Regions from separate parts of the Homo sapiens genome. Here region 2 is linked to region 1. The links are contacts of gene promoters, found by promoter capture Hi-C in blood cells and fetal thymus (Javierre and others, 2016). All regions are on one chromosome and are shown on one strand. The core of a region is centred on a gene start or on the middle of the fragment in contact, and the rest is flanking DNA. Distances in the headings are between cores, read along the strand shown. Region 1 holds the start of KRTAP13-1 (keratin associated protein 13-1). Region 2 overlaps LOC105372775 (a long non-coding RNA gene).

Region 1 (2,537 bases), core at 27-2,526:
TAAAAAAAAAAAACTTTTCTGTGTCATAAAAAATAATTCAAGTATTTTTGATGTACTATTTCTAAAAGAAACACCAAGTTTTACTTCCATTTGTTCTACAGAAAATCATGTGGACAAAACCATTGTCATGTGTAGAGATGATCAAAGACCGACTATGCAACCAAAAAATGTAGAAAAAGATTATAGATGAGGATGATGATAAAGGTATATTATTGTCTTGATTTTGTGACATCTTGGGTTTTGTTAACTATGGAAGTTTTTATTCTAAGTTAATATCCATGTTTATATCTATTATTATATTCCTAATATTGTGTTTTTAATGAGGATCTCCAAATTATACTTTTCAACACCACAAAACCTAAATCCACCTCTTTAAAGAGGGCTGGGACAGAGTCACGAAAAACATAGAAGCTGGTGTTACCCCGCAAATGCTCAGAAGGCAGTCAACATTTTGAGGTGGGGGTTTAGAGGTGTTGTAGACAGGTAGGCTCCAGAACACTTACAAATATGAATGCATCATACAAAAGTCATCAAATAAGTTTATTTGAAAGCATTTTGATTTGCTTTTAGGATGGAGTCCTGAGCATCCTTCTGCTATTGTGACTACTCTGACTTGTTTCCTACCTCATCTCAGCAGTGTCTTCTACTTTCCTTTTTTTCACATGGGTCCTTATTGTTGTATTTGTATTTATTTATTTTTTGCTTTTGTTTTGATTTCTTTTTTCTAAATACTAATTTTTTAAAAAAATTTGTTCAAGATGATATCTATGTCTAGTTATCTCTCAATTCCTTTGGCTTACTTTTATATAGGCCCTCGAGACTGGACTTACAAGCACTGATTATAGTAAATAACAGATGGCAAACTATTTTGGAGAGTGTGAACAATAAGATTTCTGCCTCTAGGCCACTGACAAAAAAAGATGAATACATTGCTATCCCCACCCAAGACAGAAAGAATTTCCCAGCCAAAACAGGAGCAGATGTATAAATCATGGGCAGAGAAAATAAGAGGGGTTTTCCTGGACATAATGGAGTAGGGACTAATCACATACTGTCATAGCATTTGTAACATAAATGCATTTCATTGACGCAGAGCTGTAAAAACAAAAGGAGTTCTTCCATAAATATAAGATGAAGGGTGTTAGTTAACTGCAATGACAAAGAAGATTACTAAGTTGCTTATATGAAATGTGGGAGCTTAAATGTGTGAAGGATGACCCTGTAAGGTGCCACACCCACGGCTGAACGTATATAAATGGTCCTGTCCAGATGTGGCATGCAAACTCAGAATCTTCTCAGTGTAACTCAGCTGAACTCACATCTCCCATCAACATGTCCTACAACTGCTGCTCTGGAAACTTCTCCTCCCGCTCCTGTGGTGGCTACCTGCACTACCCAGCCTCCTCCTGTGGCTTTTCCTACCCCAGCAACCAGGTCTACAGCACTGACCTCTGCTCTCCCAGCACGTGCCAGCTGGGTTCCTCTCTCTATAGGGGCTGTCAGCAGACCTGCTGGGAGCCCACCAGCTGCCAGACATCCTATGTGGAGTCCAGCCCCTGCCAGACCTCCTGCTACCGTCCCAGAACCTCCTTGCTCTGCAGTCCCTGCCAGACAACTTACTCTGGGTCTCTAGGCTTTGGATCCAGCAGCTGCCGCTCCCTGGGCTATGGATCGAGGAGCTGCTACTCAGTGGGCTGTGGGTCCAGTGGCTTCAGATCCCTGGGTTATGGAGGCTGTGGCTTCCCTTCCCTGGGCTATGGCGTTGGATTCTGCCGCCCAACCTACTTGGCTTCTAGGAGCTGCCAGTCTTCTTGCTACAGACCAACTTGTGGATCAGGCTTCTACTATTGATCATCTTGTTAAATTGCTGATTTTGTTGGCTAATGCCTTCAATGCCTCTACTCATAACCTTTATTGTCTTCATCATGTACAGAAAGAATTAGCCTCTTATTCTATAATTATCAAGTTCTCAGTTTGTCTTTGTCCCCAAATACTGGCTGGCAGGCTTCATCTGAAAAACTGTAATTGGAGAACTAGCTCAAAATAAATCTTGAAATACACATTAAAAGTAGAATTTATATTATTCGATTTTCTTCCACAATTGTATAAAAAGTCAAATCATTTTAATCCAATAAATCCATTGGTCTCATATTCAGCTATGTTTGTGGTGGTTTTATATTGCTAGGGTTTTGGTTGTGATGTATTAGGCAATTATTATGAAACAATTGGTGTATATATATAGGAATAGGTTTCAAAATCATATGAAGTTTGCGATTCAGACAAACTTTTGGGGGCCTCAGAGATTTTTGTTATTCAAACTACAGGTAGTGGAAGTCTACTAAATTTACAGACTTTTATTCATTAAAATATCAGAATCAGGAATTAGCTTGATCCCCTTATAAAATGTGGATTCTTGTGTCTATGCCAACAAGCATAAGGTAGCAAACTAGTTGATAGTTATATCAGGAATCTGCAGAGAAAAAAATACTATTTAGAACAATATGGTTATAGATATACATAAAAGAAAAATGGAATTG
Region 2 (2,537 bases), core at 19-2,518, 620 kb after region 1:
CATAATAAGAGTAATGCTTATATAAGCTTCTTCAATCGTTCTCTGCCTTAGCCTCGTTAGAATCTGAAGAGAAAGACCTCTAGATGTCCTCTTATCTCTGAGGGGATTAGAAAGTGCAAAAAGAAAAAAAGAAAAGTCCCTCACAGACAGTGTTCGTTTATCCACAGTTCATCTCCAATCAAAAAAGATCATTTTAACAAATCAGCTTGTAAACCTCTCCATCATGGTTCTCCCACCTTCTTCATCTGTTCTGTTTATCTTTGCATAGATTTCCTCCAAAGAAGTCCTAAAGGATCAAAAAAACTTTTTTAATGAATATTTCAAAGTATGATTGAACAAAGCAACAGCTTTTGAAAAAAATTATACAGACTTTCCTTACTGTGACTGTTGGACCTGCTGTCTTTCTCAAGGGTTATATTTTTGTTTACATTTTACTTAGGTTTCCTTGGGATTTCATTTTGATGTGTGAGTTTTAGTGTGTGTTCCCGTAGCTCAGGGACAAGGATGGAGCTAATAGAGAGCAGAATTGTAAATCGGGTGTTTTCTCTAACACATTTGTAAGAGTGTGCTAGAATACTCCTGTGCTGGTATCTCTATCTCTTGCCAGCTGTGACCCATCTTGTGTGCACCCAAGCAGATATTTTGTCAGGAGGCCCATGAACCACACTAGTGTTCACTTTGTCTTGGAGTAAAGATTTTTCTTTCTCCTTTGCCTGCAACAGCATACATTTATACTGTCAAATCATATATTTTGTTCCTAAAGATGTCTTCATTTCTTTTTCTAATTCCACAGCAATCTGCTGATTTAACTCACGTCTCTAAGAGGTGACAGTTCAAGGAATCTGGTACATACAACCTGATATTTATAATCAGTTCTACTAATGGCTGCTTCAGTAAGTCTACTCTTGTTGATAATATTTCAGAAAATGAATGATTGTCAGACTACTTAAAATTGCATTTGTAACCAACAAATAAATATTTGAAAGCCTTGCTGCAAACTATGTACACTGAGAGGCCCTTCAAAGAAAATAGACACTCAGAAAGCCTTTCTTAAGTATTTGCAATCCTTTTTTTAATAAGATAAATTAGAATTTTATTTTATTTTATTTTATTTTATTTTTAGCGAGAGACAGGGTCTTGCTCTGTCACCCAGCCTGAAGTACAGTAGTACAATCATAACTCACTGCAGCCTCGACCTCCTGGGCTCAAGTAATCCTCCTTACTCAACTTCCCAAGTAGCGGAAACTACAGGCACACACCACCACACTTGGCTAGGTTTTTTTTTAATTTTTTGTAGAGATGGGGTCTTGCTATGTTGCCCAGGCTGGTTTCAAACTCCTGGACTCAAGCAATCTTCCCACCTTTGCCTCCCAGAGTGTTGGGATTAAAGGTGTGAGCCACCACATCTGGCAAATTAGAATTTTTAAGTAGGGCAAAGATGTATAGACTGCAGAAATATATTTTATTTATATGCTAATGTTATATTTCATCATATAAACTTTTGGGTCAGGCGTGGTGGCTCATGCCTATAATTCTAGCACTTTGGGAGCCTGAGGCAGGAGGATCACTTGAGGCCAGGAGTTCCAGACCAGCCTACCCAACATGGCAAAACCCCATCTCTACTAAAAATACAAAAATTAGCCAGGCATGGTGGCATATACCTGTAATCCCAGCTACTCGGGAGGCTGAGGCAGGAGAATTGCTTAACCCAGCAGGTGGAGGTTGCAGTGAGCCGAGATTGCATCACTGCACTCCAGCCTGGACAACAGAACAAGACTCCATCTCAAAATGAACCAACAAACAAAACAAACTTTTGGATTTTATTAAATCTACAAATAAAGACCAGAAAACTTCCTTGTGGAACCTATGCTCACCTATAACTGTTGTGAATGTTCAAATCACAGTTAACGTCCAGTCATACTTTTAAATGTACTTCTAACATTTTGTTTCCATGAAAATGTTTTTGCCTTATTAAGACTTGCTTAAAATAGCCTGTCCAAGCCTTTGTTTCTTGATCTGCAAAACTTAGAGAATTGGACTAACAGTTAAGAGGCATTTTAATTCCTTTATTCTTTTTACTGACCTGCATGTTTATCTTCTTGTGATCTAGTTGTTGCTATTCTTGCTTTAAAATTTCACATTATATTTCTTCAATTAAAATGTAAGCTCTTGGGAGCAGAAATCATACCATGTCTGTTTTATATATCAGCCTCAGTTTGATTTTGCTGCTATAACAAAATGAGACTAAGTAATTTACAAAAAGAGAAATACATCTCTTACAGTTCTGGAGGCTGAGAAATCCAAGATCAAGGCACCAGCAGATTCCATGCCTGGTGAGGGCTGTTCTCTGCTTCCAAGATGGCACCCTGTTCCTACATCCACACCTGGCAGAAGAGATGAATGCTGTGTCTTCAAACGACAGAAAATGGAAGGCCAAAAAGGGGTGCAGCTAGTTCCTTCCATCCCTTTTATAGTGGTTTTTGAGGTGGTTAACACCTCATTCATGAGGGTGAAGCTTTCACGACCTAGTCACCTCT

The links. Contacts are between HindIII fragments. The CHiCAGO score rates a contact against its expected background, and 5 or more counts as called.
Region 2: a fragment that was not itself captured here is called in contact with the fragment with the promoter of KRTAP13-1 in region 1 in 1 of 17 cell types (M2 macrophages); the score reaches 5.5 in M2 macrophages.

The regions. Positions count from the first base shown.
Region 1 is chr21:30,394,755-30,397,291 of GRCh38, forward strand. KRTAP13-1 (keratin associated protein 13-1) reads left to right here and starts at 1,277. Exons shown (of 1, transcript NM_181599.3): 1 at 1,277-2,068. The coding sequence starts at 1,333. The coding sequence ends at 1,851. The region is part of intron 3 of LOC105372772 (a long non-coding RNA gene); the gene reads right to left. RefSeq lists an enhancer at 1,133-1,634. The HindIII fragment of the contact is 9,188 bases long and covers 1-2,537 here.
Region 2 is chr21:31,014,483-31,017,019 of GRCh38, forward strand. LOC105372775 (a long non-coding RNA gene) reads right to left here. Exons shown (of 3, transcript XR_937658.1): 3 at 1-286. Among named protein-coding and RNA genes, the nearest start is that of KRTAP19-8, 23 kb to the right of the region's middle. The HindIII fragment of the contact is 2,489 bases long and covers 25-2,513 here.